Linked DNA regions of Homo sapiens: regions 2, 3, 4, 5, 6 and 7 are each linked to region 1. Evidence: promoter capture Hi-C in 16 types of primary human blood cells and fetal thymus (Javierre and others, 2016). All regions are on one chromosome and are shown on one strand. Each heading gives the region's core, a stretch centred on a gene start or on the middle of the fragment in contact. The rest is flanking DNA. Distances are from core to core; before and after follow the strand shown. Region 1 holds the start of RNF138 (ring finger protein 138). Region 2 overlaps ZNF397 (zinc finger protein 397). Region 3 overlaps RPRD1A (regulation of nuclear pre-mRNA domain containing 1A). Region 4 holds the start of ZNF24 (zinc finger protein 24). Region 5 holds the start of ZSCAN30 (zinc finger and SCAN domain containing 30). Region 6 holds the start of RMP24 (ribonuclease MRP subunit p24). Region 7 overlaps ELP2 (elongator acetyltransferase complex subunit 2).

What was found. Contacts are between HindIII fragments. The CHiCAGO score rates a contact against its expected background, and 5 or more counts as called.
Region 2: a contact is called between a fragment that was not itself captured here and the fragment with the promoter of RNF138 in region 1, in 1 of 17 cell types (non-activated CD4 T cells). The highest score is 8.2, in non-activated CD4 T cells.
Region 3: a fragment that was not itself captured here is called in contact with the fragment with the promoter of RNF138 in region 1 in 1 of 17 cell types (non-activated CD4 T cells); the score reaches 6.1 in non-activated CD4 T cells.
Region 4: the fragment with the promoter of ZNF24 here is called in contact with the fragment with the promoter of RNF138 in region 1 in 1 of 17 cell types (total CD4 T cells); the score reaches 5.4 in total CD4 T cells.
Region 5: the fragment with the promoter of ZSCAN30 here is called in contact with the fragment with the promoter of RNF138 in region 1 in 1 of 17 cell types (activated CD4 T cells); the score reaches 5.5 in activated CD4 T cells.
Region 6: a contact is called between the fragment with the promoter of RMP24 here and the fragment with the promoter of RNF138 in region 1, in 3 of 17 cell types (activated CD4 T cells, total CD4 T cells and non-activated CD4 T cells). The highest score is 7.9, in activated CD4 T cells.
Region 7: a contact is called between a fragment that was not itself captured here and the fragment with the promoter of RNF138 in region 1, in 1 of 17 cell types (non-activated CD4 T cells). The highest score is 5.4, in non-activated CD4 T cells.

Annotation. Positions count from the first base shown.
Region 1 is chr18:32,089,692-32,093,135 of GRCh38, forward strand. RNF138 (ring finger protein 138) reads left to right here and starts at 2,183. Exons shown (of 8, transcript NM_016271.5): 1 at 2,183-2,544; 2 at 3,009-3,195. The coding sequence starts at 3,086. It overlaps LOC124904278 (a long non-coding RNA gene), which reads right to left and starts at 2,254. Exons shown (of 2, transcript XR_007066327.1): 1 at 2,164-2,254; 2 at 1,584-1,811. It also overlaps a transcript of RNF125 not described here. RefSeq lists an enhancer at 1,882-1,931 and a silencer at 2,602-3,021. The HindIII fragment of the contact is 10,157 bases long and covers 1-3,444 here.
Region 2 is chr18:35,243,868-35,247,884 of GRCh38, forward strand. ZNF397 (zinc finger protein 397) reads left to right here. Exons shown (of 4, transcript NM_001135178.3): 4 at 1,395-4,017. The coding sequence ends at 2,443. Among named protein-coding and RNA genes, the nearest start is that of ZNF397, 4.8 kb to the left of the region's middle. The HindIII fragment of the contact is 570 bases long and covers 1,312-1,881 here.
Region 3 is chr18:36,063,409-36,067,126 of GRCh38, forward strand. The region is part of intron 1 of RPRD1A (regulation of nuclear pre-mRNA domain containing 1A); the gene reads right to left. Among named protein-coding and RNA genes, the nearest start is that of RPRD1A, 2.3 kb to the right of the region's middle. The HindIII fragment of the contact is 5,831 bases long and covers 1-3,718 here.
Region 4 is chr18:35,342,033-35,345,685 of GRCh38, forward strand. ZNF24 (zinc finger protein 24) reads right to left here and starts at 2,388. Exons shown (of 4, transcript NM_006965.4): 1 at 2,328-2,388. LOC124904283 (a long non-coding RNA gene) reads left to right here and starts at 2,022. Exons shown (of 2, transcript XR_007066337.1): 1 at 2,022-2,707. RefSeq lists an enhancer at 1,706-1,765 and a silencer at 2,446-2,615. The HindIII fragment of the contact is 2,541 bases long and covers 182-2,722 here.
Region 5 is chr18:35,288,216-35,291,827 of GRCh38, forward strand. It overlaps ZSCAN30 (zinc finger and SCAN domain containing 30), which reads right to left and starts at 2,014. Exons shown (of 4, transcript NM_001112734.4): 1 at 1,869-2,014. It also overlaps the pseudogene ZNF271P. RefSeq lists an enhancer at 2,131-2,290. The HindIII fragment of the contact is 2,453 bases long and covers 458-2,910 here.
Region 6 is chr18:35,971,074-35,974,524 of GRCh38, forward strand. RMP24 (ribonuclease MRP subunit p24) reads left to right here and starts at 1,606. Exons shown (of 5, transcript NM_031446.5): 1 at 1,606-1,732; 2 at 1,812-1,834. The coding sequence starts at 1,656. LOC105372066 (a long non-coding RNA gene) reads right to left here and starts at 1,378. Exons shown (of 4, transcript NR_188032.1): 1 at 1,325-1,378. RefSeq lists silencers at 1,093-1,387, 1,327-1,476 and an enhancer at 1,396-2,288. The HindIII fragment of the contact is 7,007 bases long and covers 1-2,143 here.
Region 7 is chr18:36,131,919-36,135,801 of GRCh38, forward strand. ELP2 (elongator acetyltransferase complex subunit 2) reads left to right here. Exons shown (of 22, transcript NM_018255.4): 2 at 1,320-1,398. Among named protein-coding and RNA genes, the nearest start is that of ELP2, 4.0 kb to the left of the region's middle. The HindIII fragment of the contact is 1,132 bases long and covers 1,584-2,715 here.

The sequences.
Region 1 (3,444 bases), core at 933-3,432:
TTTCCACATATTGCCAGCTATATGCTTACGTGTATACCGAATGACTTATTAGAATATATGGGGGAGTGATACAAATATGTTTGGATTAGACATAAGTAAAGCTGCCGTTGCAGAGAAAGAATGAAGCAAATAAAATTAGGGTCACAAAATTAATGTTATGGTTAGATATTCCCAATGAATAATGGGAAACACTATTATACAGAAAATACACCTTACTTCCTAAATGGTCAGAATGAATGAAATGAGTGGAATTATCAAAAAAGTAAAATGTAGGCCAGGCACAGTGGCTCAGGCCTGTAATTCCAGCACTTTGGGAGGCCAAGGTGGGCGGATCGCTGGAGGCCAGGAGTTCGAGACTAGCCTGGCCAACATGGCAAAACCCTGTCTCTACTAAAAATGCAAAAATTAGTTTGGCATGGTGGTGCATGCCTGTAATCTCAGCTACTTGGGAGGCTGAGGCAGGAGAGTTGCTTCAACCTGGAAGGCGCAGGTTGAAGTGAGCTGAGATCATTCCACTGCACCCCAGCCTGGGTGACAGAGTGAGATTCTGTCTCAAAAGAAAAAAGAAAAAAAGTGAGTTTTCTTCTCTGGGCTGTTAAAAATTTGAACTCAAAGAACCATTTTATAAGTGAATGTGAAAAGCACCTGAACTACTGCTATTAGCTGCCCCTCTCGTCACGTGCTCTTCCTCCTTCCAGGAAATCTGAAGCTAGTATTAGCTTTCTTGTCTTGCTTCCACTGCGCTTGCTGCTAAGGAGGAAAAGCAACAAAAATACAAAATATAGTTTGGTAGAGGGAATTAGCTATTCATTGGACAAATTATTATTATTCTAGGAATCAATGCTTTTGAGATGTACATTAAAACCCATTTCCTCCATAAAGTTTTCTGTTAACTCTATATATTTCTAATCATTCCATTTCCTATCCTCATTATAGCCATCGTTTAATGCAAAATTTAATACTTTGGCAAATACCATTTTTTCTCTCTCATTCTGATAGATATGTAATAATGTAAACAGGTTGAGAGCAAAGTTCATGACATCTGCATAACACCTAACAATGCCAATGTCAACATAGACAATAAATGGCAGAATTGATTTAAATAGTCCCTTAAATGGCTTCTGTTTATTCATTTAGACCATGGGGGAGGGTTTTAACAAAGGATGGTAATAAAACCTTTCTTTTCTCTGAAGCTAATTGTAGATGCTGTATAATGTTCCAGATTTTCCTTAGCTTCTTTCACGTCATTGTGGATCCCATCTTATCGATTTATCCTTTTTTTGTTCTTCTTTTTTTTTGAGAGTCTCACTCTGTCGCCAGGGCTGGAGTGCAGCGGCGCGATCGCGGCTCACTGCAACCTCTGCCTCCCGGGTACAAGCGATTCTCGTGCCTCAGCCTCCCGAGTACCTGGGATTACAGGCTCCCACCACCATGTCCGGTTAATTTTTGTATTTTTAGTAGAGATGGGATTTCATCACGTTGGCCAGGCTGGTCTTGAACTCCTGACCTCAAGTGATCCAACCGCCTTCGCTTACCAAAGGGCTGGGATTACAGGTGTGAGCCACCGCGCCCGGCCTTTTTTCTTTCTTTTTTTTTTTTTTTTTTGAGACGGAATCTCACTCTGTTACGCAGGTTGGACCATCTTATAGATTATCAATTGTACAGATAATTGCACTCCGGCCTGGGAGACAGAGTGAGTACCTGTCTCAAAAAATAAAATAAAATAAAATAAAATTAAAAAAAACACTTAAATTAGTGAATAACCTTGGTGAAAAGCCACGTCCATGCTTCTACGGCATTTCTCTTCAAAGCTAAAAAAAAAAAGAAAAAATCAAAAATCAACCCAAAGGTGTAGTAGAAGACTGCATCTGCGACCGTATTTAAGCATCGGTCATGCTGTTAAAGGAGAAAGTGGACATCCTCTCAAGGAAACTTTAATCCTGCCCCCAAAGGATTAAAATCCCGTAACAAATATTTGTTTATAACACATCTTGACAAGATCAAAACATTCTGGTAGGGCAAATAGTAAAGACTAAATCTTGAACATTGACGAAAACTTCCTGAAAGGCCCAATGTATTTGACAGGAGAGGTAACTGGGGTCCCGGGCCTAGCGAGGCGGGGCGGGGAGGCGCAGGTGTCACCGCGGGCGCCCAGCTGCTTACGTCACAACCCGCGGAAGGCGCCGTGCGCCGGTTGCTATACAGGCCGCACTTCACACCCCGTGCCTCCCCGCCTCTCCTGGCTCCTCCGCCCAGATCCCCGGCGCTCCCGCGTTCGGTGACGGCCGGGTAGGCTGTAGGCAGCGCAATGCCAAGACAGAGCTGCTGGCGGCGGCGGGCGAATCTCCCTGCACCATGAGCCTCGGCTCCGGCCCCGTTAGGGGCCGATAAGCACAGCGCACGCCGCCCTCCATTTGCCCCGGGGCCTCGGCTGCGAAGATAGCGGCGGCCGGACAGGAAGCTCGAGGAAAGCGCTGGGCCGGGTCTCTACGAACACGTGAAGGAAAAGCAGCTCCGTCCACAACGCCGCTTCGGGGCTCCTAGGTGAGAGTCTCCCCGGCGGAAGCGTGGAGGGGCCGGGGTGCCGGGAAGCGGGGCGGGGAGGAAGCCGCGGACACGGGCTGGGCACTCGGGGCTCGGGGTCGGGGTGAGTAGAGGCGGAAAAGCAGTGAAAAGGGAGGCCTTGGGCGAAGACGGGGGCTGAGGGCGGGGCGCGAGCCCGCGCCTGGAGCCCGGTGAGGGCGTGGCCTAGAGCGTGAGGCCGCGTCCTGGGGCGGGGTGAGGGGCGAGCGGGGCGGGCCCACGGCATGCTGCGAGCCCAGCCTCCCGCCAAGCACCGTCCCCCATCCAGCCCCCTGTGGGAGGAGCCGTGGGAGGGGTCGCCTCTTGCCCGGCGCGTGCGGCAGTAGCGTCTCTGCGTTCGGCCCCGCCCTACCCAGGGCCCCGCCCCCTTCCTGGCGCGCGCTGTATCCTGATGCGATCCCCCTCCCCCCTCCGGGTTCATGTAGGGAGTCGGGCCCCGGGCCGCCACCGTCACCTCGGCCGCTGCCGCTGTCGCCATCGCCTTGTTTCCCCATCCCCCGCCATGGCCGAGGACCTCTCTGCGGCCACGTCCTACACCGAAGATGATTTCTACTGCCCCGTCTGTCAGGAGGTGCTCAAAACGCCCGTGCGGACCACGGCCTGTCAGCACGTGTGAGTAGACGCCCCCTCCCCCTCGCGGAGCCGGGTTGTCGCTTAGGCCCGGCCTCCGGCCCGGGACCCCGGGCTGCCGCCTGGCGGGAACCGAGCCCGCCGCGGCCTGCCCGAGCGTCGCTGCCCCGCGAGGTCCCGTTCCCCGCCCCTCAGAGTCCCGGGGCGGCCTTTTCCTCAGCCTCGGGGCCCGCTCCCCGCGTCCAGCCCCCTCAGCCCAAGCTCCCGCTCTCCCGCTCTCCCGCTCTCCCG
Region 2 (4,017 bases), core at 347-2,846, 3.2 Mb after region 1:
GAGAATTGACAGGTGGTAAGAGAAGAACCAGAGAGGAAAATAGGATCCAAGTCATGAAGACCTGTATGTCATGTTAATTTGTTTGTATAGTTTCTTAAGTGCAGTGGGATGCAGTTGAAGGATTTTGGACAAGGAGTGACATAGTTTGATTTGCAGTTTAGAAGTTAGCTGCAAATGGAGAATCATGTAAGGAAGGCAAGAGTATAGTCCTATTAAAGACTGCTGTAATCCAAGTGGCCACAGTGTATTCAATCAATATGTGTTATGGTAAGCGGTGGAGAACATAAAAGCTGACTCCTGTTCAACAGCATTTAAGTTGTTTTGCAACATCTGGTAATTATTAAAACTAGAGTGTGAGGGAGAGGAGTTGAGGATGATACTGAGGTTTCAGTCTTCAACAGTCTGGTTAATGGTAGTACTGTTCATGTGAATGAGAAAACATAAGGAAAAACAGATACATCTGATGATGTGTTTAGGTTGGTACATTTGGTGCTTGTGAAATATTCAAAAGTAAAATGCCCAATTAGCATAAGACTCTAGAGCTTAATAAAATATGGATATAATTGGGGATCTGGGCAGACATTAGTCAGACAATAGCTTACAATGTAAGATGTAATGGAAGCCAAGGGTAGAGAGTTTGTAGAGTAAGGATACATGAGAGCCCAAAACAGAATCTGGAGGAACGCTCGTGTTTGAGTGATTTACCCTAGAATCTAAGAAGGAACAGCCACAGAAATCAGGCTAATATCACTGGAAGAGAATGTCTCTAGAAGGAAGGTGTGATCCTCAGTGTCAATGCTACAGAGAGGCTAAGTAATAATCTAGAAAGTACTTAGTGGATTAAAGAGCTATGAAGTGATCTTGATGAGAGTAGTATCAGTGGAAGTAGGGGACGGGGCGGTGGGGGGCGGGGGAGGACAGTAAGGCAGAAACCAGATTGTGGAATGAGGATACTTTCACTTGAAAGGCTGCAGACAACTCTTTCAAGAAATCACTATGAGAGAGTGAGGTTGCGAAACCACTTGAGAGAGAGTGAGGTTGCTTGAGGGAGATATGTAGGCAAGAAGGTTGATTTTAAAAGGTGAGAGACACTTAAGCTTATTTAAAAGCTGATGAACAGGAATCAGTTGAGAAAGAGATTGTAAATAGTAGAAAAAAATTGTAGGTAATTTATCAGTTGATGTCTCAAAAGAGGCAGGAAAGGATGGAATTCGAAGTGTAGATGTAGACTTTATTATTAGATAAGAGAGACCCTCTTTTGGCCAGTTGAAAAAAAAGATACTGGAGGACAGTGACATCTTTGTAGGTAGAAGCTTCTGTTTTCTCTCATGTAGAAAGTTTTGACGGTGACAAGAGAAATGTAATATCTGTTTTTTTGCTACTTATTGTTTCAGATTGTGAGAACAGTGAAACAGCAACAAAAGAGGGCATCTCAGAAGAAAAATCACAGGGACTCCCTCAGGAACCTTCATTTCGAGGAATTAGTGAGCATGAAAGCAATTTAGTGTGGAAGCAAGGAAGTGCTACAGGGGAGAAACTAAGATCTCCTTCCCAAGGGGGCAGTTTTAGTCAAGTGATCTTCACAAACAAATCTCTAGGAAAGAGAGACCTTTATGATGAGGCTGAAAGATGCTTGATTCTAACTACAGACTCTATAATGTGTCAGAAAGTTCCTCCAGAAGAGAGACCTTATAGATGTGATGTATGTGGGCACAGCTTCAAGCAGCATTCCTCTCTAACACAACATCAGAGAATCCATACTGGAGAAAAGCCCTATAAATGTAACCAGTGTGGGAAGGCCTTTAGTTTGAGGTCCTATCTTATTATTCATCAGAGAATTCATAGTGGTGAGAAAGCATATGAATGTAGTGAATGTGGGAAAGCTTTCAATCAGAGCTCAGCCCTCATTAGACATCGGAAAATCCATACTGGTGAGAAAGCTTGTAAATGTAATGAGTGTGGCAAAGCATTCAGTCAAAGTTCATATCTCATTATACATCAAAGAATTCACACTGGTGAGAAACCTTATGAGTGTAATGAATGTGGGAAAACCTTTAGCCAGAGCTCAAAACTCATTAGACATCAGCGAATTCACACAGGAGAGAGACCCTATGAATGTAATGAATGTGGAAAAGCTTTCAGGCAGAGCTCAGAGCTGATTACTCATCAGAGAATACATAGTGGAGAGAAACCCTATGAATGTAGTGAATGTGGAAAAGCTTTCAGTTTGAGCTCAAACCTTATCAGACATCAGAGAATTCATAGTGGGGAGGAACCTTATCAGTGTAATGAATGTGGCAAAACTTTCAAAAGGAGCTCAGCCCTTGTTCAGCATCAGAGAATTCATTCTGGGGATGAAGCTTATATATGTAATGAATGTGGGAAGGCTTTCAGGCACAGATCGGTCCTTATGCGCCATCAAAGAGTCCACACTATAAAGTAATTTGTGAATACTGTGAATAGTGTAAATACTTCAGTCAGATTTTTAAGTTTGTTAGTCAAAAGAGTTTACTTTGGAGCAAAACTCCATAAAGGTTATAAAATACTAGGTCTTGAGTCTAGCTTGCTTTGTGCAGCATTTCCCAGTGCTAATGTAAAGTGTCCCTTGAAAGCTTTTCCTGTGACTAATCAGAACAGAATACAGAAGAATCATTACTTCCAGCTCTTCTCTTATTAGGAATACTCAGGAAATACGAAAAGTGGGAATGTAACATTGAAACCTCATTTTGTATGAAAGTGTCATGAATATAGCAACCCAGGCTCTGTCACTGCATCTGATTGTTAGTGTGCCAGGTTATGGGGCTGGTGTGGACTGTGTGAGGCACTTCGTCTCAGGAACTAAAAAAAAAAAAAAAACTGACCCAATAAAGAACAGTGACAGAGCAGCAGGAAAGGTGGGGAAATGGCTTCATCAATGATTTGTTGAGCCCAGGGCAGGCCAGGAATTAGATAGGCATGAGAAGAAAGAATATAATTTACCCAAAGGTTATTTTTTGAGTACCTACTTTGTCCCAGGAACTAGGAATACAGTGGAAAACAAGACTGTAGTCTCTACAGTCTAATGGGCAAGGCAGCCAGACAGGCAGTGAAAGTGGAATGCTCCTATGTGACCTTAAGGAGCACCTGACTCAGCCTTGGATAAGGAAATGGGGGAAATGGCCTGAAGGATGAGGAGGAGTTAGCCAAGGTGGTACTCTAGGGAAGTGGTACCCCAGTAAAGAACAGTAGCCAAAGGCCAGAAACAAAGTGTGGAGCATTCCTTGAGTTCCTGTTGTAGTGAGGTCTTGTCTGTCAGAGAAGTCTGGGTCTGGCCAGACTCTTAAGCAGTGCCAATGGAGAAGTTCCTGTTAATAGACAAAACCTGGAGCCCTTGGGCCACAGGGTAGTCAAGAGCTTTGTCTTGGTTTATGTGACCCCAGGGAAAGGGCAAATATGTGGTTTCCTTGCCCAACCTGTAGGCTATCCTAGAACTTCCATGAGGGTGGTGGTGGGAATGAGGGTGAGAAAGAGCCCAGCCTATACCTCAAGAGTCTGCTAGAGTGTTAAGACTCTATTCTCCTTTGATTCTAAAGACAATATCAGAGCTGCTGTCAGGTTTCTTAAAATTCCCAACGCTCTGGATCAGAAGCTGCCATATCATTTGTTTCTGGGGCTATACGCCCACAATTCCTAGTACATTCCCTTGGGCTTTGGTGCTCAAAAAATATTTGTCAGTTGCTGGGTCTGTGACATTCTTTGGGCACCTCGCACATGTTCAGTTTTGTCTTATGTCACCAGTATTTCACAATATCTTTTGCAATTTTTTTTTTTTTTTTTTTTTTTTTGAGATGGAGTTCGCTCTTGTCCAGGCTGGAGTGCAATGGCACGATCTTGGCTCACCGCAAACTCTGCCTCCTGGGTTCAAGCGATTCTCCTGCCTCAGCCTTCTGAGTAGCTGGGATTACAGGCATGCACCACCACAGCTGGCTAATTTTGTATTTTTAGGAAAGACAGGGTTTCTCCATGTTGGTCAGGCTG
Region 3 (3,718 bases), core at 731-3,230, 4.0 Mb after region 1:
CCACTTCCCTCAGCCTCCTAAAGTGCTGGGATTACAGGCATGAGCCACAGTACCCAGCTCATTCTTTTATTTTAAACAGTAGCTTCTCCCACTCTCACATTTTTGTCTTTACACACTTTGAGAAACTAAAGAATGCCTAGCTTAACACAAAATGTTCAACTAATTTTCTTTAGTTTGTTGTAATATACTTTCAAGATTGATCGATTCCTTTCATAATTATTCTGCAGAAATAATGTGATTCAAGATATGGTAAAATAACTAAAAGAATGTCTGGTACTCAGTAACTGATTGCCATTATCATTAAACTACAGGAGATGAGAATCCTGAAGTTGATGAGCAAAACTGCAGGAAAGGGGAAGGACACAAAGGCTACACCCTGCAAAAGCAGTCATCTGTCAAGAAAAGGAAACCCTTGGCAGAGTAGCCCAGGCTAATATGAGGATTAAAGCGGCAGCGGTATGTTCATCAGCATCACCGTTACTATCAACACTATCATCACTACCACCCTCCTCCTAAAGCATCTTTTTATATGCTTTAACGTTTTCCACTTATGAAACACTTAAACATATGGAAACATCACAAACCTTGCTAAAAGCACATCTTACAATTTTACCACATTTGCACCATTTTCTTAAATACATTAAATATTAGATAGCTTTCTCCTATTGAGAGGTGACAACGTCCTAGCAGCCCTTGCTCGCTCTCGGCGCCTCCTCGGCCTCGGCGTCTGCTCTGGCCGTGCTCAAGGAGCCCTTCAGCCCGCTGCTGCACTGTGGGAGCCCCTCTCTGCGGCTGGCAGAGGCCGGAGCCGGCTCCATCTGCTCTCAGGGAGGTGTAGAGAGAGAGGCGCCGGCAGGAGCCTGGGCTACGCGCGGTTCCGGGTGGGTGCCTGCTGGGCTTGATGGGGGACGAGCTCCCTCTGGGCTGCTAGAGTGCCCAAGCTAGGTGCCGCAAAGTCCCGCGGCGAGTGCCATTGAGAGGTGAAGCCAGCTGGGCTTCTGGGTCAGGTGGGGACTTGGAAAACTTTTCTGTCTAGCTAAAGGATTGTAAACGCACCAATCACCACTCTGTGTCTAGCTCAAGGTTTGTAAACGCACCAATCAGTGCTCTGTGCCTAGCTAGAGGTTTGTAAACACACCAATCAGCACTCTGTGTCTAGCTAAAAGTTTGTAAATGCAACAATCAGTGCTGTGTGTCTCGCTAAAGGATCATAAAACGCACCAATCAGCACTCTGTCAAAACGGACCAATCAGCTCTCTGTAAAATGGACCAATCAGCAGGACGTGGCTGGGGCCAGATAAGAGAATAAAAGCAGGCCACCCAAACCAGCAGCAACAACCCGCTTGCGTCCACTTCCCTGCTGTTGAAGATTTGTTCTTTCACTCTTCACAATAAATCTTGCTGCTGCTCACTCTTTGGGTCCCTGCCGCCTTTATGAGCTGTAACACTCACCGCGAAGGTCTGCAGCTTCACTCCTGAAGCCAGCGAGACCACGAATCCACCGAGAGGGACCAACAACTCCGGATGGAAGGAACAACTCCAGACGCACTGCCTTTAAGAGCTGTAACACTCACAGTGAAGGTCTGCAGCTTCACTCCTGAAGCCAGCGAGACCACAAACCCATCAGAAGAAAGAAACTCCAGACATGTCTGAACATCAGAATGAACAAACTCCGGACACACCATCTTTAAGAACTATAACACCGCGAGGGTCCACAGCTTCATTCTTGAAGTCAGCGAGACCAAGAACCCACCAATTCTGGACACACTATGACAACCACTATCTTGGAATATGGTGTTAATCACTACTATGCATATTTTAATATAGGTATCTATAAACAAAAGAAGTACTGTTTTGCATGTTTTTAGACTTTACCCCCATAGCATTATTCGTCTGTACCTTGTTTTCTTAGCTCAAGATTTTGTTTGTTTTTCAATTCAGTCACGTTGTTTCATGCAGCTCTAGTCCATTCGTGAGAACTTTTCGATAGTATTACATTTTATTAATATCACAATTTATTTGTCCATTCTCAAACTAATGGAATGGTTTTTTTGTTTTCTTATTTTTTGTAAAGAAAAGGTTTCACTATGTTGCACAGGCAGGGTCTCACTTGTTTTCAATTTTGTTATTATGAAGCTGCAATAAACAATTCTTGAGAACAATACTTATTTCTAGAATATATTCCTAGAAAGAAAACTGCTAGGTCAAAGGATATATTTAATATATACCTCCAACTTCATCAACTAAGTTGATCTACAAAATAGTTACATATTTTTACATTCCCACCAAGTGGTATAAGAGTTCCTGTTTCTCTGCAACAATTATCCATATTGTCATATTATTTTGCCAAATTGATGAACATAAAGTGGTACCTCACTGGCTTACTTTTTCCTGATTTGTAAGATTAAGTATCATTTATTGACCTTTCAGGTTTCCTCACGTGAAATGCCTATAAACAGTACTGCCATTTTTTTTTTTTACTGATTTGTAATAGTTATTAAGAGAGTCTGGGTATCAACCCTATACTGATTACATGTGTTTCTAAATGCTCTCTGCAAAAACAAAAAACAAGATAAACCTGTTACCGATTCTGAAATCTAGTAAAATGTAAAAGCAAAGCTAATTCCTGACTTTTCAAAGTTCACAGCTACTTTCCAGACCTTTATATCAGTGTTTCTGAAACCTTTCCGTCCACTCACAGAAGATGAATTCCTCATTCAGGGCCAATACACACATACTTACACATAAACTGAAAAACAAGGCTGTAAATCAATTTCTTCTCAAGGATGGGTGACGTTTTCATAACCACAAACAATATACAAGGACAGATTGTCTCCATTATATACAGCCAACATTTTGGCTCACATTTTGGCTGTTACGTACATACATCATATAGCTTTCACAAGGTTCAGTAAGCAAGCGTCTATTTTGATTAATAACGGTTAAAACCTTTAACACTTGATAAAAAACCATCATATCCATCAGGATGTTTGCAACAATAATGAAGAGTGTCCACTCTACCCAATGAATTAAGAATTAAAGTACAAGCTCAGACTAAGCAAATGAAATTTTTTATTTTCAGTCGCACTAGGATAATTTTTTACAAAGTTGCTCTGCATACATGAACTGATTCTGAATATTTTAGTGACAGACATCTCAAAAAAGTTTACTTCATTTACAGGAACACTATCAAATGTTTTGCAAAACAAAGACACTGCATTAGGGCATATAATCATAGAATAGGAAAGGACTTTAGGTGACTTACTCTAAATCTCTCCTTTTCAGGTAAGGCATCTGCAACGCAGAAGTTATAAGAAACTTGCCCAATTGAGACCCTCTAAAATCTACAAATTCAGAGTCTTTTCCACTGCATTACCCATCTTCTTATATTAGACTTCTAAAACTATTCCTCTATTAATTTCACAAGAATAAGTTGCTGCGTTACAGAAATGACGGAAGTAACTCCCAAACCCACACCAATCTTTTTCTTTCCACTCCCCTACCTTCTCCCTCCCTTATCCTCCATTATCATTCACAGAATGAAAAAAATACCTGACCACCTGAATTTCTGGCCCTAATTGGGTGTGGAGTCCCAACCCCCTGCTACTGTTTCCGTGTTAAGCTAACCGGAGTTTTCTTTTTTAATTATTCATTCCTTTATTCAATAAATATCTAAGCCCAGACTTTGCAGAAGCGTGGTGCACGCAGCTCCTCCAAG
Region 4 (3,653 bases), core at 1,138-3,637, 3.3 Mb after region 1:
TAAAAATACAAAAATTAGCTGGGCGTGGTGGATTGCGCCTGTAGTCCCAGCTACTGGGGAGATTGAGGCAGGAGAATCTCTTGAACCCGCGAGGTGGAGGCTGCAGTGAGCCAAGATCGCGCCACTGCACTCTAGCCTGGCGACAGAGCGAGACTCTGTCTATAAAAAAAAAAAAGCAAAAAGCTTACAGAATAAGGATATAAATATATTTGTACAGCTGTACAATGTGTTTGTATTTTAAGTGAAGTGTTATCACAAAAGAGTAAAAAAGTTAAAAAAAAATGTAAAAGTTTGTAAGTGAAAAAGTTCCAGTAAGCTAAGGTTAATTATTGAAGAAAAATGTTTTCTTAATAAATTTAGTGTAGCCTAAGTGTTCAGTGTTTATATGGTCTATAGGAATGTACAATAATGTCCCAGGCCTCCAAATTCACCACTCACTCACTGACTTCTTAGAGCAACTTCCAATCCAGCGAGGTCCATTCATGGTAAGTGCCCTGTACAGGCATATCTTTTTTTTTTTTCAAACATTTTATATCATATTTTACTCTTATCTTTTCTATGTTTTGATACACAAATAGTTAGCATTGTGTTACAATTCTCTACAGTATTCAGTACAGCAACATGCCGTACCGGTTTGTAGCCTAGGCGCAATAGGCTATACCAGATAGCCTAAGTGTGTAGTAGGCTACGCCATTTAGGTTTGTGCAAGTACATTCTATGACGTTCACACAAGGATGAAATAGCCTAACATATTTCTCAGACCATAGCACTATCGTTGAGTTATGCATGACCTTATTTACTATATGGCCGCTTACAGAAAAAGTTTGCCAATCATGACCTACTAAGACGACAAACCCTATGTCAATAATCAAAAGAATCCAAGTAAGAACCAGACTACTTCAGTGCTTTCTAAATGTGCCTGACCCTGGAACGCATTATTTCCAATTCAGGATTGGTGTTTCCTGACACACACAAGTCAACTCAAAAGGAAGGTTCGCTTTATTATTATGTGCTTAAAAAAATTTTCTTTACCATTTAAAAAATATTTTTAAGGTGTTTAAGAACTCCTTGGACTTATATGTGAAAAAATGTTCACTTGCTGAGTAGCAGATCACATAATATTGAAAAGATCATATGTGAAAAACATCACATAATTTTGAAAAATTATCTTGCACATAATACGTAAATATTCAGTCTTCCACCACACCATACGTACATTTATATTTATAATGATAGGCATTAATCACAGAAACTTCTATTAAGAAAAGGCACTCGCATAAGCACCTTGACTTCCTGCAGTGGTCCAGTGTCTTGTCCTTACACTGGAGGACTCACAGTTTCCCCAGCTTCTACCTTCAGTGAAACTGTATACTGCTTCTGGACCTTTATTATTTGCACGATCATGCCCGTGCTGTTGTTTACGACACATACTAGCAATGAGCCATTCAGCCTATTTATTTATTCAGGGCCCAAAATCTGAACAATAACAACTTAAAAAAACTTATTGTAACCCAAGCAAGATGAAGACTAGAATCAGAAAAGGCCTTATCAGACAAGTAATACATACTGGTTTAATTAAATACCCTGGAGTGTGGTGGCCTTATACATAAGGTCTAGCCAACATTCATTCGTTCCTATTCCAAGACCCTGCTTATCAACGGTGCAAGTATTTCTACATAATTTTCTCTTCCTTTTATGCTGTAGAGCATACCGCTTGTGGGAAATGGAGGGAAGGCCCACGGTCCCGACAATGTTTGGGCAGGGTACCTCGTCCCAGGTGGATCGCCCACCTTACTGCTGCATAGACCTGCTGTGTATCCCGGCCCCGGCCCCGGCCCCGGCCCGACGTCCTCTAGCCCCTCTTCCCAGCACTCAGGACCGCGGATTTCAGATGACCAAAGGCCACCCTGTGACAACAGCGTCGGAACCACGGCACTTCCGCCTGCGGCCGGTGAGACTACAAATCCCAGAAGCCCCGCGCAAGTCTCGTCCCACTACCACCCCCTCCCATCACGACTCCCAGAACCCTCCGCGAGACGCCAGGGCCTCGAAATAGAACAAAACCGGCCGGTGGGGGAGGGGGAAGGTGAGGGTCTCGGAGGACACAGGGGGTTAGAGAGCTCTCTGCAAATGCCGAAGACCCAAGCAGGCCTGCCGCCTACCCCTCCCCGCCCCACAACTGCTAGGCGCGGAGACCGCGGCCTGTTCCCCGCGCCTCCCGGGAAGCTGAGGAAGGTCCCGGACAGGCTTCCCCGCCGGCTCCTGCTAAGAGGTCCGCAGACCCTAGCCCGGTGTCCCCCCTCCCTCTCATAACGTTCCCCGCACACCGGCGCAAACCTCCGGCTCAGGAACCGCAGCAGCTTCGCTGTCCACGGCAGACGCAGAAACGCCGTTCACAAGCCTTTTCCCAGAAGCCCCCGGCGCGGGCTGCTTCCGGTCTGCGGGCCTGAGGAGGCGGGGAGAGGTAAAGCCCACGTTGCCATGGAGAAGCGCCCCGGGCGGGGGAGGGGCGGCCCCACGACAATGACCGCATTGAGGCTGCGCTTGGCCTCGCGCCTCTCCTCGAACAGCCCAGCGTCCTCTGGACCGTTTAAAAGAAAACATAAAGAGGACTCTACCATTAAGATAGTCCTTACAATTTCGCAAGCCCTTTCACGTGCATTATCTTGTGGATCCTCTCAGTAATCCCCTGCAAGAAGGAATGAAAGTGAGTGTTTGTGAAAGCTTACTACATTGTGCCAGGCGCTCTCGTCGTGCTTTACATGTCATTTTTTTTTCCACAAATAAATGATGTAGGAACTTTCATTATCCCCATTTCACAGCTGAGATAGTTGAGGCACAAATACAGTAAATAACCTGACAAGAGCTCACAACTCATTTGTGGGTAGCAAGATTTGAAACCAAGACGTGATTCAAATCTTTGGCTCCCACTAGTTATGTCATGGAGCTTTATTCCGACCTATTTATCTGTCAGGAAAACTAGATAAGACAGGTTAAGAGTTTTGGCAGTGATGTCACGGTGAATTTGTAGAATGCATGGTCATCTTAAAGCTGGGCATTTTATACCATAAAACAACTGCTGACGCGATCATTTAAAATTACAAATCAGACCACTTCACTCCCCTATTTAAAGCCCTCCAATTTATGTCATAATAATTTATGACATAAAAACTCCTTATAATGGCCTGTAAGTCCCCTGTGGTCTGTTGCCTGCCCGCACCCCCAGACCCTGGCGCCCCCAGTCACCTCAGCTCCTCGGCTCATTGTGGCCCAAGATCCTCAGCCTCACCACCTGCCTTTCATGGCGCATGACCCTTCATGGCACTGTTATTAATGGAAGTGATCTCATTTATTTACTTGTTTTATTTTTTGTTTTGTTTTGTCTTTAAGTCCCTTAAGGGCAGGGACCTTGTCTGTCTTGCTCACCACAGTATCCCATCCTAGATCCTGGAAGCTGACTGCCTGGTAAATAGAGAACTCAATAAATATTTGTTGAATAAATAAATGAATTGTGGGATGGTTACATTGCTGCCTTTAGCTAGGTCACATGATTGGCATCAGACACCACACAAAGGAGCCCTGTTGTTTAAGGACTGGTCAAAAGTGTAGATCCAGCCTAACATAAGCATTTCAAGATCCTCAGGCTTTGACTT
Region 5 (3,612 bases), core at 764-3,263, 3.2 Mb after region 1:
GAAAGATTTGTACAGATACTTCACCAAAGAATATATACAGATGGCATATAAGCACATTACAAAATGCTAAATATTATTAGTCAGTATGGAAATGCAAATTGAAACCACAGTGAGATACACAGTGAGTTGGTAAGGATGTGGAGGAACCGGAACTCTCATGTACTCATGTTAGGAATGCAAAATGATACAGCCACTCTGAAAAGTAGTGTGGGTTTTTTTAAACATTAAATGTACATCTACCATGAGAGAGGGGGAAAAAAGCATATGTCCATATAAAGACGTGTGTACATGAATGTTCTCAGCTTTACTTGTAACAGTAAAAACCTGGAATAACCCAAATGCCCATGAACTGGTGATTGGATAAACAAACTGTGGTATATACATACAATGGAATATTATTCAGCAACAAAAATTAACTATTGATACACACAGCAATAAAGATAAATCTCAAAATAAAAGCTTAGTGAAACAACTCTGACAAAAACAAGGACATTCTGTATGATTCCATTTAAATAAATATCTAGAAAATGCAAACTAATCTCTAGTAACAGCTGACCAGTGGAGGGGGCATTGGGAGAGAGGCTTACCAACGGGCAGGAGGAAACTTTTGGGGTTTAGATGTAATAAACATATTATTTTGATTGCAGTGATAGTTCCACAGCTGTATTCATTTAACAAGCCTTATCAAATTATATCCTTTAAATATTTGCTGTTTATGTCAGTTATACCTCAATAAAGCTGTTTTGTTTTGTTTTGTTTTGTTTTGTTTTGAGACAAAGTCTCGCTTTGTCACCCAGGCTGGAGTGCAGTGGCGCAATCTCGGCTCACTGCAACCTCCGCCTCCTGGGTTCATGGGTTCACGCGATTCTCCTGACTCGGCCTCCCAAGTAGCTGGGATTAAAGGCGCACACCACCATGCCCAGCTAATTTTTGTATTTGTAGTAGAGACAGGGTTTCACCTTGTTGGCCAGGCTGGTCTCCAACTCCTGATCTCAGGTGATCCACCTGCCTCAACCTCCCAAAGTTTTAGGATTACAGGCCTAAGCTGCGCCTGGCCAAAAAGAAAGCTGTTTTTTTAAAACTATCTGCACTCCCTACTTGGGAGGGTTGGACTCAAGTTCCCACATCTCTTTCCTCTTACGGTTATATTAAGGGCTTAGTCATACATCCCTAAATTTCATATATCCCAACAGGGACTTGGGCTGGGACAGGAAGCCCTCTTCCTCCACCTCAACTACCACTTAGCCACCCACCATTTTCTCAAACCTCTTCCTTTCCCCACCGGACAGCTTAAACCAAGTCACACGTCTCATTGGTCTCAACAGAAATGAGGTCCCAACTCCTCATTTCCCAAGATATTTCCATGAACACAGCAATATCCTTTCCTACCCTGATTACCCCGCACCCTCCATTTCGGGTCCTTCTCACCCTGATCAGTGAGAATTGTTCTAGCAAGCAAACCTTAAATAGACCTCGTACCCTTTCTAGATTGCAAAGTAGATAAAAATCCAACTTTCCGTTAATTCAGGGATTAATTACTGAGCATCACTTATTTCTTGGGCAGTGGTTCTCAAAATGTGGTCCCAGGACCAACAGCTTCAGGATCACCTGAGAACCTGGGCTGCCACCGCCCCCTCCCCCACTACTAAATCAGCAACTCCGGAGTTGTGGGGCAGAAGTCAGTATTTTAACAAGGCCTCCAGGTGATTCTGATGCGCGCTACTCTTCTGGGGGTGTGAAAAACCAGAGAGGACAGGAAGAAAGTTAGAATTAAAGCATACCTACGAATCAGATAAGCGATAGGGGGAGGGGTGGTTATTTAAAAAACGATAACTAATTAAGAACTTGTATGTAGTAAGAAAACCTACCCTGCCCCAGAGAGCTTTCCCGAAAGATAATGGATTCCGACATTCACCTCAAGAACCGGCAGACAGAGCAGCAAAGGATCTGTCGCTGGCCAAGCAGGTCCCTGGCTAAGGCACTGCTAGGGACAGCTCGCGGCGGTTCGGGGGTTAATTCTCGGCAGCCCTCCGTCACCCGGTGCCCCACCCCCGCCCTGCGCCTGCGCGGTGAAGCGCCATAGAGCTGAGCACTCCTCCCAGATTCCTAGAGCGGACAGGGCGATGGCAGGTTCGCCGGGTGTGAGGCTTCACAGCGGTCCGGTGACCAAGTCGAGGTAAGGGTGATGTCGGCTCGCGGATAGCAGAGGAGTTCCGGGTGATCTTGCCTAACGAGCAGGAAACTGTGCATGGTTTCTCGAGTCCTTGGAGAGTGAAGGCCCCCGGGGTCGCTCCCGGGCACGGAGAGACGATTGGTTCACGGCCTAGTGTTCGGTTTGTTCCCAGTCAGCCCTTGCTGGCCTTGGGTTCAACCGAATGAACGCCAGAAACTCTGTGGGGTGGGGGGAGTCACCAACCGTGGTGCATCCATACGAATCAGCCTACCGTACTGGGAAAGAGCCACCTGAATTTGTGAATGTTGTAAAAGCAAAAGGAAGAAAAATGATCAGTAGTGTCATTTTTGGATAGGAAGGGCAGCGAATAACATAGTGTTAACCACTAGAATTCACTGTAAAATTCCCCTCTCTGCGTTATCTTTCCAGTTATACCTTTTTTTGGTAGCATTAACCCCTAATTTTGTTTGAACATCTCTAGACTTGGAATGGGGAATGTGTGTCTTAAGTGGGTTAATCCCTGGCTCTTGGATGATGGGGAGGAAGCCTAATACATTCTGAGAGAAAAGCAACTGGAAGTCAAATGAGATTTTTTGTTTTCTCCTTCTTTTATATCTTGAGGATTTTTCTGGTGGTCTAGTCTCAGAGATTACATCTGTAGTCAGCACAATGATTCCCTTCCAAGCCCAGTGGTGCCCAGTTGCCTCCAGGTCCCAGACCTTTATGTGGACAAGAAAAGCTTACAGAGGAAATGGTAATTCTCCACTTGCACACTGAGGTGTCCAGTTGCAGCCCATGGAGATCCAGTTCAATTATGAATCTCAGGAACACCACCTTCTGTCAGGTGAGAGGCAGGGTATTATATCTTTCTTAGTGGCTTTGGCGGGGTGGGGAGGATGAGGGGGTGTCACTCTATGCTAGTGTCTTCAAATGATCCCCCTTAACTCTGTTAGGCAGTATTACCTCTTTAGTGTACCAAGCATAGTCACATGACTTTATTTCAAAATCTGGCGATCAAATTCTCATGCAGCTCTCTCCACTTTTTTAAGACCCCAAAGTCATTCATTTTTCCCTGTATAATGACCTCATTGCTAATCTGTCAGTTTTGGTCATTTTTCTTATCTACTGTAGGGGCATAGTTAAAAGTTCTGGAGTCTGACAACCTAGATTCAAACAGTAGTTTTGTCACTTAACTGGCTCCAGTAAGTTACTCATATATTTTACGATTCTGTTTCCTCACTTTTCAAGTGCATAGTACTTCATACCTTGAAGTTATTTTGAGATTTGTATCTATGTATTACTCCAGAATAAAGAACCCCAAAATTTAGTGACCTAAAACATCAGACTTCTTAAACCACATTATTTCTTATGATTCTGTAGGTCATCAACTTGAGCTGGGTTCACCTGGGCATTTTTTTTTCTCTTGGTCTTTTCTGGGG
Region 6 (3,451 bases), core at 356-2,855, 3.9 Mb after region 1:
GCCCAGGAGTTCAAGACCAGCCTGGGCAATATAGTGAGACGCCCATCTCTACCAAAATAATAATAATAATAACAACAACAACAACAACAACAACAATACCTACGCATGGTAGTGTGCCTGGTTCCCAGCTACTAGGGAGGCTGAGGCAAGAGAACCCTTTAACCCAGCCCAGGAATTCAAGAATGCAGTGAACTGTGATCACACGACTGCACTCCAGCCTGAGCAACAGAGTGAGATCCCATCTCAGATAAATAAATAAAGCAGGCTAAATAAGGGTCCACTATCCAGAACATACACATTAAAAGAACCTTACAACTTATCAACAAAAAGACAACTCCAATAAAAAATGAGCAAAGAACTTAAACAGCCAAAGATACATAAATTGCCAACAAGCACATGAAAAGCTGCTCAAAAGCATCAGTAGTCAGGGAAATGTTAATCAAAACCACAATGAGATGCTACATCATACTCACTAGGAAGGCTAGATTTAAAAAAAAAAGAAAAAGAAAAGCAAATGTTGGTGAGGATACGGAGAAACTGGAACCCTCATTAAGCACAGAATTACTACATAACCCAGCAGATCTACTCTTAGGTATTATACCCCGAAGAACAGAAAAAAGGCACTCAAACAAATGCATGTACACACATGTTCACAGCGGCATTCATTCATAACAGCCAAAAAGTAGAAACAATTCAAACGTTCAACTGATGAATGGATAAACCATTGTGATACCGCCATACAATGGAATATTATTCAGCCATAACAACGAATGAAGTACTGATACGTGCTGCAAGGTGGATGAACCTGATACATTATGCTAGGTGAAGGAAGCCAGACACAAAAGGTCGTGTGTATGATTCCATTTACATGAAATGCCCAGAATAGGTAAATCCATAGAGACAGAAAGCGGACTGGTGGTTGCCAAGGCCTGGGAGGGAGAGGAGGATTGGCCGTAAGTGCTTCATGGAGTTGGCTGTCCTTCGGCGAAATATTTTGGAAATAGCAGAATGGTGCTTGCACAACATTGTAAATTTACTAAACGCCACTGAATTGTTCACCTTAAAATGGTCAATATTACGTTATGTGAATTTCACTTTAATTACAAAAAGAGAAACGCTAGCGTTTACGCAGGCGGAGGGCAGGCTGGACTGGGGACGCTCCTCCCGGCCGCCTCGTTGCTGGCAGCGCTTCCGCCCGCCGGCGCACCAGTCAGTACCGCGCCCGGCGAATGTGGAGGGCGAAGCTGCGGCAGGGCAATCACAAAAGGGCTGTCAGAGAGGAGGCGAGGCGGGAGGAAGATGGAGAGGCGGGTGGGAGCCTCACCTTTGGACTCTATCGCCACAGCCCGGTCTAGCCGCTACGCCCGAGCTCAAGTCTGACTCGAAACTCCGCTGGGTGCCTGAGAGGACCCGGCAGGCCAAGGGGTGGAACTGAGGGGGCGGGGACGCGGCGGGCGGGTGGGGCCGCCTCCCGGCTGGGCACGCCTCCAAGCCAGACTGGACGCGAAGGAAACCGGAACCTGTCTGCCTACGGTGCCTGTTTCCGGAAGCAGCTTGAGTCCGGACACCAACGACGGGGACGCTGGGAAGCCGACTTCCGGCGCCCTATTTTCTCACCTGGTTCCCGCGGCGAGCCAGCGGCAGCGGCGGCGGCGATGAGACAGAAGCACTACCTTGAGGCTGCAGCGCGGGGACTGCACGACAGCTGCCCGGGCCAAGCCCGCTACCTCCTGTAAGAGGACTGGAGGGGAAGCGGGAGGCGAGCGGGTAGGTGTTCCTTTGCTCCTCACAAGTCTCTTTCTCTTTTACAGCTGGGCCTACACTTCGTCGCACGGTAAGAAGAACGCCTGTCTCTTGTGCTTTGGGCTCTTGTCGCCCCGCTTTCCTCTGTTCCGCACAACGCTCAAATAAGGCCGATGGACTCACTTCCCTCCATAAAAACAACAACAACAAAGCCCGCATGTGTCTCGGTTTCGTGAAAAATCCAAATTCTTTAATGTGCCTTGTCTTGCTTTGTTAGCGGCATTTGACACATTGATCAGTCTTGAAATAGTTTCCTCCCTTGGCTTCTAGGTCATTACGTAGTTCACCTCTTCATTTATTACTTCTCGATTTGCTTTGCTGGTTCCTCCTAATCTCCCCAAGCTTTAAGTATTGTCGTGGCCCAGTACTCAGCCCTTGGACCTCTTTTCTAGGCACACTCGCTTCCTTGGTGACAGTTTTTCATCCAATCTCATGGCTTTTAAATACCATATACTGAGGACTTACAAATGTATATACTCAGCGCAGACCTCTCCTCTGAATTCTAGACTCATATATCCGAATGTCTTCTTGACAAATTCTTTTCAATGTCTAGTAATTCAAACTTAGCTAATATGTCCAAAACCTGAGCTTTAACCCCCAACAAGATCCTCCAGTTTTTCTCATTTCAGTAAATAATTCCATTCTTCCCTTACAGTTATTGAGCCCAAAAACCTTGGAGCTATTCTTGACTCCCTAACTCTCTCTCCTCCCCCAGGCCAGTATGCGAGCAAATCCTGTTGGCTTTAAAATGTAGCCAAAATCAGCCAGGAGCGGTGGCTCACCCCTGTAATCCCAGCACTTTGAGATGCAGAGGCGGGCGGATCATTTGAGGCCAGGAGTTCGAGACCAACCTGGCCAACATGGCGAAACGCTGTCTCTACTAAAAATACAAAAAAATTACCTGGCATGGTGGTGCACGCCTGTAATCCCAGCTACTCGAGAGGGTGAGGCATGAGAATCTCTTGAACCCGGGAGGTGGAGGTTGCAGTGAGCGGAGATGGCGCCATTGCACTCCACTCCTCACCACATCCATTGCTACTACCCTGCTCCAGGCCATCACCAGCTCTCTCCTGGATTAATAAAAGTGAAAGTCCTTTAAAAGGATTGTAAGGCCCTGTGTCATAGACCTGCATACCTCTCTGACGTACTCTTTCCTTCACGCAACTCCAGTCACACTAGGTCTCCTTGCTTTTCTGTTTCAGGGCCTTTGCAGGTACTCTTCACTCTGCCTGGGATTCTTGCCTCACATATCTGCTTTCATGTGAATCCTCCATTTCCCTCTGGTCTCTATAATATCACTCAATGAAGCTTTCCCTAGCCACCTATTTAAAATTACAGTAACTCCATCAATACTTCTATTCCCCCCTCCTATCTTACTTTTTTATTCCCAGCACTTAACATTTGACGTTGTTATATTTATTGTATGCCTCGGTGAATTGTCCTTTGTTCACTGCTGTGTCTCCAGCACTTAGAACAGTGCCTGGCATTCTTAATTGTCACTTAGTGAATATGAATGAGTTTCACATTTGGCAGAGCTAAGTTTAAGTGTGGTCTTTAGCTTTATAAGTGCTGTTGCATCCCTGGCACTTAGCACAGTGCTCAACAGTAGATACTATTCATTGTGCTAATTATTTAAAAAAAGAAACAA
Region 7 (3,883 bases), core at 900-3,399, 4.0 Mb after region 1:
TGCTGGTCGGGCTTTTTTTTTTTTTTTTTTTTTTTGGAGTGTAGTGACAGTAACTGCTCAGTGCAACCTGCAACCTCCACCTCCCGAAATCAAGTGATTCTCGTGCCTCAGCCTCCCTAGTAGCAGGGATTACAGGTGTGCACCCCCACACCTGGCCAATTTTTGTGTTTTTAGTAGAGACAGGTTTTACCACATTGGCCAGGCTGGTCTCCAACTCCTGGCCTCCTGAAGTGCTGGGATTAAAGGCATGAGCCACCACACCTGGCCTCGATTGGGCTTTTAAGTAAATATGGGAATAAAAGCATTTCAAATGCTAAAATAAAGTTTTGGGAATGATGCTCATTCAGCAAATCTTCGACGACCATCTGTGGGCTAGCCCTGGGCTGAGTGATGATGACACAAGGTAATGAGTGATAACGCGCGTGGCCACCAAGGAATTCTCAGTCTAGTGGGAGAGACAGTGAAGTACAGTAAATTGTTTTCCAGCCTCAAATAACCTATATGTGAAATATATTAGTTTATGCACATTTGCCTCTTCCTTTTTCTTAGCCATGAGAATTCTAGTTGGCGTATAAGCAGATACAAAGCCATTGCCGTTGACAACAGATAGAGAAAGGGGCTGTAAAGAGGAAGGTGCAGTAGTCACAGTTAAAATCTTTAATGGTGTGTGAAGTATGAGACCTCCAAGTGTGGGGTGAAGTTGGTGAAAGCAGTCTGTTGAGGATCTGTGGAGAACCTGGCAATAGGCCCTGCAGGAATCTGATGTGTGAGGACCTTAGTAGTTGTGGCCTTGTGACATTGTGCCACTGGGTCTGAAAAACCCACCGTCTCATTGGCCATTGGCATGCAAAGTGAACTGTGCTTGTACCCATTAATCACAGATTCTTCTATTGGAGGGCTTTTTTTTTTTTCTTTTGGTCAGAGAAACCCTCAGATTGGTGCAAGCATAGTAGGCCTACTTCCACAAGGAAGCAGCTGCTTGTCTAGTTTGGTGTGTCAGGACAGGCTGCCTAGGTGAAAAGGATGTGGGCACTGTAGGAGAGTGAGCAGAAGCAGGTGGGTGGATGCAGACGCGAGAGCTCAGTGTAATGGGAGGACAGGATGCTGGGAATGTGGAGTCTCAAGAAAGGCAGGACTGATTTAGAGGAATGGATGACTTAAGCCATGGTTAAAAGTTTATAGATTGAAGAAGGCAAATCTGTTTGATGTAAACCTGATCTTTTTACTAGCATCGAAAACACTGAAATCTGTTTTTACTTATTTATTAATTTTTCTGTAGGATAAATTCCAGTTTACTAACTGTATTTTCTTCTCTAAAGAAAAGGGTTGTTGTTACCAACTTGAATGGTCACACCGCCCGAGTCAATTGCATACAGTGGATTTGTAAACAGGATGGCTGTAAGTATTAACCAGATTTTAAAGTTGATCTCAATTGTTTTCTGATAAAATAAGGTTAGCCATTTTTTTCTCATCACTTCTCTTAATTTAGCATTACCTTATATGATGTTATGCAATTGGAGAAACAAGAAAAATGGTATTCCCAGTGAAATATCTGAACTGTATTTTTACTTCGTAGCAGTTGAAGCTTGGATTATACAGCAGTGCTTAGGATGAGGGTAGTGCAGCCCTAGACTTTGGCAGGATCCTGTCCCACCTCCCCAGTTGCCTGTAACCTTTATTAAAAGAACTTGTAAGCAGGGCCTAGACTGAGGCTGTGTTTTAGAGACTTGGTTTCTTGGTCTGTTTCTGCCATAAACAAGCTATTGGTTTTTCTTTTTATTCTTTTTTCTTTTATTTACTTATTTATTTATTTATTTATTTTTTTTTTGCCAACTAGTTGGAGACTAGAATGTTTATTTTTTTAAGAGACAGGATCTCTCACTTGTTGCCCAAGCTGGAATGCAGCGGCTCCATCAGAGTTCTCTGCAATAGCTGGGACCACAAGTGTGTGGCACCACGCCTTTCTAGTTTTTTAGGGGTTTTTTTTTTTTTTTTTTTTTTTTTTTTTTGAGATGGAGTCTCGCTTTGTCACCCAGGCTGGAGTGCAGTGGCAAGATCTCGGCTCACTGCGAGCTCCGCCTCCCGGGTTCACACCATTCTCCTGCCTTGCTCTGTAGCCCAGGCTTGTCTCGTACTCCTAACCTCAAGCAGTCTTCCCTCTTTAGCCTCCCAAAGTGCTGGGATTACAGGATTAGCTACTGTACCCGGCCAGCTATTGCTTTTTTAGGCAAGACATTGCATCTCTATTGACCCTAGTTTGCACCTTAATAACATGTGAGAAGTAAGAGATTGGACTAGATCAAGGGTGTCTTAGAGGTTTGTAAGACCTATGAGATCAAATTATTTTCATAATGATATCAAGAAGTTATTCACAGTATTCATTCTCATTGTCATGAATGTACAGTGTTTTCCAGCAGCCACATGATGTATGATACTGCAGCAGATTAAATACAGAAGCAGATATGAAAATCCAGCTATATTCTAATAAAATCATATGTTAAAGAGATTTGTAGGAATGTAAAATAGTTCCTCTCTTTCATTAAGTTTTTGTTTTGGAAACCATTGGGGTTTTTCCCCATCAAAATGTTATATATGTTCACACATCATAGAACCCATTGTTATTTTTAAGTAAATGGTTAAACACATATTTTTCATATTTCTCAGTTTTAATTTCTAATGTGGTTAATATTGGTACATATGGTTCATATAATCAAAAGCTTTTTGGGGTCCTCAAAAATTGTAAGACTGTAAAGGAATTCTAAGACCAAAAGTTATGAAAATTTCTGGACAAGATTATCTCCAGGTCTCTTCATCTCTAAGATTCTGACTCCAGAATTTTCAGTTAAAATATTAGTTGCCTTTAGATGGTGCTCCCAAAATCCTATGATATTTCTTTAGTTATCTTAAATATATCTACTGTAGTTTTGATATGGGTTCTGAATTAGTTTTATTTTTCATTACACACTCATTTGAGGGCATTTTGAGCCAGGCACAAATGCAAAATTTTCTGAATTATTAAGACTTTGCTATGATTTTATAAATGATGTTTAAAAAAGTTTTAATAAGCTACTTATTTGCTTCTGTAGGATTAGTCACATGTTAGGTCAATAAAAATCATTAAATGGTACAAGGGATGCCTGTTAGTATGGATAATAAAACATAATTGCAATTATATTAATTGCCACCAGATAACATCAAAGACTGACTTTCAGTATAGGAGTTTGTTATAAAATGTTAATTTAGGCTTGTATGTTTTATCTTCCGTTTAAAAGTGAGGTTACATAAAATGGATTGCTTGTGTATTACTGTAATCTATAACTATTATGATTGATTTCCTTTCATTGAACTGCCAGATAATGCAGATAGCCTTTCCAACCCTTTATCGGTGATATATAAAATTTTAATATCATTTTGTATTTTTAATATGTCTGAATTTTAACATTACTTTTATGTATAGACATTCTTAAAATCATATAGTTAGTTAAGTGGCTCAATTGCTGTGACACATGAAGTTGAAGCCCATGATCACAGTTGGCTGGCAGCAGAGTTAGGACATGAACCTGGGCCTTCTGAGTTCAAATCTAATGCTCTTTAGTCCAGCTGCTTCCCTGAAACAAATAAAAAGAAAATCCAAACCCAAATTAGGTTATTTGCCCCTTTTTTGGTACTACTTTTTCTTTTGTTATCACTGAGAAGTTGCAAGTATTTAAAAGATCTATTTTGAAGTGTGTCTCTAATTTCAACAATAAGTCATATTCTTGGTAGTAGCACCTGACTACAATGTTTCATATAATGTTCCTGCCAAGAGTGTTTAGCCTGCATCTAATCATGAGGAAACAATCAAACAGATTGAGGGACATTCTGCAGAACAAGTGCTGGGTAC